Linked DNA regions of Homo sapiens: region 1 is linked to region 2. The links are contacts of gene promoters, found by promoter capture Hi-C in human tissues and cell types (Jung and others, 2019). All regions are on one chromosome and are shown on one strand. The core of a region is centred on a gene start or on the middle of the fragment in contact, and the rest is flanking DNA. Distances in the headings are between cores, read along the strand shown.

Region 1 (3,933 bases), core at 613-3,112, 220 kb after region 2:
AGACTGACAGTGGAGGCCAGGTGCAGTGGCTCACGCCTGTAATCCCAGCACTCTGGGAGGCCGAGGCGGGTGGATCACTTGAGGTCAGGAGTTTGAGACCAGCCTAGCCAACATGATGAAACCCCGTCTCTACTAAAAATACAAAAATTAGCCTGGCGTGGTGGCGGGCGCCTGTAATACCAGCTACTTGGTAGGCTGAGGCAGGAGAATCACTTGAACCTTGGAGGTGGAGGTTGTAGTGAGCTGAGATTGTGCCACTGCACTCCAGCCTGGGCCCCCGAGCGAGACTCCGTCTCAAAAAAAAAAAAAAAAAAGAATGCCAGTGGAAAGATGTTCTTTATGGTTAATGCTGTCTTCCTTTGCCTTTCAGTGTTTAGTCTGAGTTTACACAAGAGCTACAAATTTGGCAATGTCAATGTAAATTTAATGAAAGGCCCCATTGGGTTATCTTGAAATAATTATGAATCTATAATTTGTTGGTTGTTTGTGAAAATTGTGAATATTTCTTAAGCATTGTAGACTGTAAATTATCAGTATTCTTCACTTGTGTTTATTTCAACAAAGATTGCTTTTAAGTTTGGCCAAAATATGGTGGGGCCATGTGATAACATAGGTGAAGCATTTAGGTTTTCCTCAGTTACAATTCTTGTTCAAATGCAGATTGAACTTTTAAAAAAATTATTAGGCTCAGGTTTACTGACAGAGACAGGTGATACAGTATAAGAAATATATACGTATATTTGTGTATCTTTCTCAAAAGAAATCGATTATAAATTGAACAATTATTTTTATAAATTATATAATATACGTAAGAAATATAATTATATTATTATTCATGGGGAGACCAGGTAGAGGCTCAAGTTCTCTCATTTACTATTTTGGTGACTATAGTCAAGTAAATCATACTCAGAACTTGTTTTTTTTAGTTTTCAGATGGGCAGAGAGACAGAATCTGTTTTTCACGATTGTTAAGGATTGAATGAGGTCAGAATGCTTATTCAGTTGCACAGAGCTATATAACTTTATTATAATTGTTTGGTTTTCTGATTTTAGGTTGTTACAGCTTGGTATCAAATGATAAACTGTTACCAGACTGGCCTTTTTCTTGTTGCATTTTTGCAGTTTTCTCCACATATTCTTTCATTCTTGTGAGCTCTGTGAGGTGCAGTTACTCTGGAGAGAGGGAGGGCCAGTAATCATATGTGGCTCCTTGGAAGTCTGCCTGTTTTGTTGCTGTGGCTAACACCTCACCCAGCCTGAGGCATGCGTTAGGCACGTGGTAAATATTGGTGGAGAGAATGAATGTATTAATGCTAATACAAATGCTGATGTTTTTTCTTTTATTCTTACCTAGTTTTCAAGAGCAAAGCTATACCAAGTAAAGGAGAGTTTAAGTCGCTTTCTTCCGTTTTATTTATGTATTTATTTTTTTGAGACGAGCTCTCACTCTGTTGCCTAGGCTGGAAGGCAGTGGCGAGATATCTGCTCACTTCAACCTTGACCTCCTGAGCTCAAGAGATCCTCCCACCTCAGCCTCCCAAGTAGCTAGGACTACAGGCATGCACTACCATGCCTGACTAATTTTGTATTTTTTGTAGAGACAGGGTCTTGCTATGTTGCCCAGGCTTGTCTCCAACTCCGGGACTCAAGCGATCTGCTCTGCTGACCTCAGCCTCCCAAAGTGCTGCGATTACAGGTGTTAGCCACTGTACTAGGCATTTTATTTAAATATTTGCTTATTATGAACATTGTAGCTGTACACGGTAGAAAAGTACAAGGAGTACAGAGAGTTTTCTTTTTTTTTGAAATGGAGTCTTGCTCTGTTGCCCAGGCTGGAGTGCAGTGGCATGATCTTGGCTCACTGCAACCTCTGCCTCCTGGGTTCAAGTGATTCTGCTGCCTCAGTCTCCTGAGTAGCTTGGATTACAGATGGGTGCCACCACACCCAGCTAATTTTTGTATTTTTAGTAGAGACAGGGTTTCACCATGTTGGCCAGGCTGGTCTTGAACTTCTGACCTCATGATCCGTCCACCTCGGCCTCCCAAAGTGCTGGAATTACAGGCATGAGCCACCGTGCCCAGCGCAGAGAGTTTTCAGTTGAAAAGTAAAGTTCTCTGAGTCTTCTTTTTACGTAATCTCACTCCCAAGAAGCAACCATTTTTAACTTTCTCATTAGTTTTTCTGATGGTTACCACCATATTTCTAAATAATTTTAGAGCACTTCTACTTCCTGATATCTTGATTTTCAGACAGTATCTGTTGATTTTGCTAAAAATGATGAAAAATTTATTATAACTTACATGGTCTTACATTTTCCCCTTTACCTCCTCATTTTACTTAGTTATGTCTCAATCTCTATTACCTTTTATATATAAACAGCATATTTAAATCTTAATTCATGTATGAATTAATGCTGAATAATTAAGCTAATCAAAATATTATACTTAAAATTTTTTTAATATATTTTTCTATTTTTGTGAGTTATGGAGTCAAAGAGAATATATTGTCCAAATTGTGATATTTTTGAGATACTAATAAAATGGGTACAAGTCAAGCATATCTATGCAATGAGGACACAGAATCACCCTAGTTACAGACTTCATATACTCTTCTTAGATTTTCACATTGTGTTTATCTGATTGGTTATAAAATCAGTAAAGCTTTTGTACCTTCAAAGAATTTTCAGTGACTAATAAAGTTCACAGTAAGGAAACTTGGAAGTAGAGTTTCAGAATGTTAACTATTTCTGTATTTAAGTGGAACTTATAAGTAATAACAAAATCTAATAAGTCAATACTTCCTTGAATTAAGGTATATTTTTTCATGGTGAGGACTTGTCTGTCAATTCCAGTTTTAGTCCGTGTATTCATTAGGGATTAGTGTTGTATTTTGAAGGCCTTTTTGAATATCTGCGGAGATAAACATTTTTCTCCTTAAGAGTTATTATATGTTAATTAGTAAATATGAGGCCTCGTATTGTACTGTCCTCGCACTCCTGGAGTAAACCTCTCAGGATTATAATATATTTTTAAATGTAGATTCCATTTTTATTTTTATTTATTTGTTTATTTTTTTGCGACAGGGTCTCACTTTGTTGACCAGGCTGGAGTGCAGTGATGTGCTCATTACTCACTGCAACCTCCGCCTCCCAGGCTTAAGTGATCCTCCCACCTCAGCCTCCTCAGCAGCTGGGATTACAGGCACAGGCCACCATGCCCAGCTAATTTTTGTATTTTTATTAGATATGGGGTTTCACCATATTGGCTAGGCTGGTTTCAAACTCCTGGGCTCAAATGATCTGCCTGGTTGGTCTCCCACAGGGCTGGGATTACAGGCATGAGCCACTGTGCCTGGCCTAGATTCTGTTTTTACATACATGATTTAGGATTGTTTTATCTACAATTCATTTGTATATAGCTTTACTTTATCAGCTTGAAGTATTGCTGTTACAGGTGCCTCCTAAAAATAATGTGGATGTTTTTCTTTTTTTTTTTTTGGACTCTGGTCTTTGAAGATTTAAGAATATACCACAGTGAAACCATTGGGGCTTTTGATGGGTATTTCTTTGATAACTTTCTTGTTTTTGTCTCTGGAGTTTGTAATGTTTAAATTTTCTATCTCTACTGAGGTCAATTTTGGTAAATTGTGTTTTCCTAGGAAATAATTCATTTTATCTAAGTTTTAAAAAATGTATTTGCATTGTGCATAGTAGTCTTTTCTGACTTTTAAAAATGTTCTGTTTTAGTAATTTTCTTCTGTCACTTTATTTTTGTGTTTGTGTTTTTCCCCTTTTTTCCTTGATTCTTTTTCTCTAAACAACCAATATTTTGATTGATTTGTTCTACTGGTTTTGTGTTTTCTGTCTTACTGACTTATACTTTTATCTTTATTGCTTTCTTTGGCTTCTTTTGTTTTTCCCTCTGGTTCATTTT
Region 2 (4,408 bases), core at 1,228-3,727:
AGCTGTCTGTTCAGAGCCTCCTTTCCACCCTCGCCACTCCTGGAGTCACATTCCAGCCCAGGTCCGCAGCATCCCAAGCTGGGGACTTTGTCACCCCACAGGGCACCCAGCTGATCAGGTCCTCTCAGTCTGGGGAGAAGAACTCACAATCCTGGCAATGAAGGAACTCAGGGCCCACTGGAAAGCCACACTGAGCAAAGGACAAAGACACACCCAGGCTTGCTCTGCAGGACTCCATTTCTGGGAAGCTCAAGGACAGGCGACAAACGAGTCTATAGGGCAGGATGGGGGCTGCCAGGGCAGGATGGGCATGAGGGTGAGCTGCAGAGGCAGGAGGACACACCGTCTGGGGCAAGGCAGATGTCACAGGTCTGGACAAAGTGGTAACACGGGTATATGCGTTAATGAAATCCCCCAGATTAGACATTTTGTTGTCTATAAATTCTACCTCACTCACAGTGATGTTCTAAACTCAGGTGAGTTTTCCAAGCAGTGCAGAGGACCAGCGCCAGCAGCATGACGCCCAGAGGGGAGGAGCAAGAGACACCCGTGGGCTCCCACATTCATCCTGTGGCTGCTGCTCCCTCTCCTGACACCCCCACTGCCTGCCAATGGGTCTCACTGCACCTTCCACCCGGCCCCACCCACAGTTACCATGAGACTCCAGATCGTTCCCTTCCCTGCTCACACTCCCTCCAGGAGCTTCCTCTTCCTGGAGCAGGCATGCCCAGCCCCGCCTCAGGGCCTTTGCACTGGCCCTTCCCGCTGCCTGGGGCTGTTTCCTGTCTAGGCAGGGCTTCTCACCTTTCCAGTCTCATAGAGTCCTCCCTGACCAGGTCCAGTGGCATCATCTCTCTCTATCCCATACTCTCACTTCCAACAGAGAGACTAATTTCCTGATATTAATTATTGATCACTATTCGCCATCCTCCCACACACCCTAATGCTGGGCTGTGCAGTGCCACAGCCACCAGCCACATGTGGCCACAGGGTGCTTGAAATGGGGCCAGTACAATTGACACCCACATACACAGGGAATTTCAAAGACTCAGTACACACACCCAAAATAAAATAACCTATGTTATTAATGATTCTTCTTATGTGTTGAAATAATATTTTGGATATATTAGGTTAAGTAAGAAATATTATAAACATTACCTTCACCTGTTTCTTTTTTACTTTTTGAAATGTGTCTCCCAGAAAGTTTTAAATTGCTCCTGGGTTCGTGTCACATTTCTGTCTGGCAGCAGCCCTGCAATGTAGTGTCCATGGCTCGGTCACCCAGGCTCCGTCTCTAGCTCCTAGACTACCTGGTGCAGGGGGAAGCTGGTGAAAAGTCTGTTTACTGAATAATGAGTTGTGAAAGGAGAACCCAGAGTTTTTTACTCAAATAAAGGTTAATTCTTCTGTTTGAAAAGTTCCCTAGCACAGGGCATGGCCTGAGTCTCCTGTGGCCTCTGGAATCACACCTCTGCCTTAGTGATTTCTAGACCTTGACCAAATGCTCACGGATACTCAGGACCTCTGAAGACTCCGGAAGGCCGAGACCTCTATCTTTCCCTTTTCTGAGGAAATGAAGCTAGGGGGTCGTATGCTTTTAGGGCCCAGGGGGCCTTGACACCTCTCTGGAGGGCAGGGTGACCTAAGCTTGGGAGGAGGGACAGGTCTTTGGGAAGAGATGGAGCTGAGGGGGTGGAGTGGGTAGAAGGGGGGCATAGGTGTGGAAGGGGTGGGGGAAGAGGGGCCAGGAGTGGGGTGAGAAGAGGGGAAAGAAGAGGATAGGAGGGACAGGGACAGGGAGAGGCCAGGAATGGGTAGGAAGGGAAGACAGAGGAGGGGCGGGACGAGGGAGGGGCGATGAAGAGGGGCCGAGCTGGGGTGGGGGCGAAGTGGGAGCAAGGACAGGAGTGGAGGAGGGAGATGAGGGGCATGGGAGGCGGTGTCTGGGGGTTGAAAGGGGAAAGGGACAGAGGAGAAGGAGCCTGAAGAGTGGCGGCATGGAGGGGCCCGAAGTGGGGAGGTGGGAATGGTCGGATGGATGGGGAGGAATGGGGAGGATAGGAGAGGCAGGGGAGGCTGGAAGACAGTAGGAGAGGAGGGGGAGGGGAGGGGAGGGGATGGATGGGAATGGATAGGGAAGGCCAGGGAGACTGGGGGGCCAGGGGAGGAGGGGAGGGAGAGGGGAGGCGGGAAGGGAGAGGAGAGGCCGGGAGGGGCTGGGAGGGGAGGGAAGGGGATGGATGGGGAAGGACAGGGAAGCCTGGAGGGGCAGGGGAGGCTGGGATGGGAGGAGACTGATAGGGAGGGACCTGGAGGCGGGGAGAGGCAGGGGAGGCGGGGAGAGGCAGGGGAGGCGGGGAGGGAGAAGGGAGGTGGGAGGGACGAGGCGTTCCGGAAAAGGGAGTGCAGGCCGCGGTGGGGTGGGGCGGCGAAGGCCGGAAGGGATAAAACCGCAGTCGCCGGCCTCGCGGGGCTCACGGCCTCGCCTCGGTATCGCAGCGGGTCCTCTCTATCTAGCTCCAGCCTCTCGCCTGCGCCCCACTCCCCGCGTCCCGCGTCCTAGCCGACCATGGCCGGGCCCCTGCGCGCCCCGCTGCTCCTGCTGGCCATCCTGGCCGTGGCCCTGGCCGTGAGCCCCGCGGCCGGCTCCAGTCCCGGCAAGCCGCCGCGCCTAGTGGGAGGCCCCATGGACGCCAGCGTGGAGGAGGAGGGTGTGCGGCGTGCACTGGACTTTGCCGTCGGCGAGTACAACAAAGCCAGCAACGACATGTACCACAGCCGCGCGCTGCAGGTGGTGCGCGCCCGCAAGCAGGTGCGTGCCGCCCCCCGCAGGGTCCGAAGCCCCGGCCCCGCCGTCCCAGCCTCCCCCCGCGCTGCTCCCGGACCCCGTGCTGCTCCTCTCCGGCGCCTGGGCTTCTCACCCGGACCCTGTTCCCGGTCTTCGCTGTCACCCCCGAGCCCTTGGCGGGCGTGTCCGGGAATGCCCTGAGTCTGGCCTGGCCTGGAACCGCACGGACACGTCAGGTCCGCGCCCGGCGCCTAAGATCAGCTTCCAGGAGCCAGCTCGAGCTGCGCCGCAGCGCGGGGGCAGGCACAGGACGTCCCACACAGCTCTGTCCCGACCTCCTGGGACGCTGGGCTCCGGGTGCGCTGCTGAATACGCAGGAGAAGGAAAAACAGAGCCCCTCATCTGGCTGCCTCCTTGTTCTTCCACCAAATAATTTTTAAGCACTTTTGTTTCTTTTAACTTTTTATTCTCCCGTAATTTCAGACTTACAGAGCAGCTGCAAAATAGCACAGGGCATCCCTGTAGATCTTTCACCCAGATCCCTCAGATGTTAGCACAGATGTTAACATTTTGCCCTGTTTGTTCCCCCCAGCTCACTTTCCGAATGTGAATATGGGTGTGTGTATATGTACTGTATATGCATTTTTTGCCTGAATCTTTTGAAAGTAAACACTTCAGTGTGTTTTTCCTAAAAACAAGGGCAATATCGCACATAATCACTATTCCATTTTGAAAATCAGCACTGACACATTCATGATCTAATGCTCAGACTCATTCAGCTTTCCCTGTCTGTTGACGGCCTTCGTGCCCTAGGACGCTCCTGGGCCATGAGTGCATGAGTTCAGCCCTGTCCTGTCCCCTCGGCCTCTTTTAACCTGCAGCAGCAGCTGGGTCTGTGCCACGACCGTGCCATTTCCCAGGGTCTAGCAGGTGTGGATGGAGACTATGCTGACTCTGGGTGGGCTTGATGCTGCTCAAGATGAGATCTAGGCCATGCGGCTCATCCTCCTCCCAGAATACTCTCCGCAGGGGCCACACGTGAGCCTGGCACCTTGTCCTGCAGAGCCCTGCTTCCCTCCCCAAGTCACACCCCTGGGCACAGTCCCCTAGGACTAGCGGCCTTCACCCTCAGGCCGGCTGACCACCCCCTACATCCCAGGGCAGCTGAGTCCCTGCTGGGGTGGAGCATGCCTGACCCTGCCTCTATCAGCTGATGCAGAGTTAGACCTCAGCCAGATGAAGACACCCAGCAGACCGGAGTAGGGGGTCGGATCGGGAGGGAGCTTCAGTAGGGCTACCAGGCCCAGCTTGACCTGCATCCCATGGCAGAGCAGCGAACAGTGACACAGACTTTAGAGCTCCTCCACCTTCTCTTGGAAATTCAGAGGAGTCCAGACCAGCCGCGTTTCTCCCGCAGCCGTCAGCTGGGGCCCTCTCCCTGCACAGGAGGGCCATTCCCTGGTGTAGGGTCCCCGCTGGCCTGCACCTCTCTCTCACTGGGAGTGAAGCATGGGGCATTGTAGATCGTTGGGCCCTGGAGCCTATTTTACAGAGGAGCAGACTGACACCAGAGGGATCACAGGCCTTGCTTGTGCTTCTACAGGACTTGTGTGTGGTTCC

The links. Contacts are between HindIII fragments. The study calls those that stand out against the background at their distance.
Region 1: a contact is called between a fragment that was not itself captured here and the fragment with the promoter of CST3 in region 2, in 2 of the 25 tissues and cell types used here (adrenal gland and dorsolateral prefrontal cortex).

The regions. Positions count from the first base shown.
Region 1 is chr20:23,413,465-23,417,397 of GRCh38, reverse strand. All of the region lies in intron 1 of NAPB (NSF attachment protein beta), which reads left to right. Among named protein-coding and RNA genes, the nearest start is that of NAPB, 6.1 kb to the left of the region's middle. The HindIII fragment of the contact is 6,970 bases long and covers 1-3,933 here.
Region 2 is chr20:23,636,024-23,640,431 of GRCh38, reverse strand. It overlaps CST3 (cystatin C), which reads left to right and starts at 2,477. Exons shown (of 3, transcript NM_000099.4): 1 at 2,477-2,812. The coding sequence starts at 2,570. RefSeq lists silencers at 2,323-2,662, 2,693-2,942. The HindIII fragment of the contact is 14,575 bases long and covers 1-4,408 here.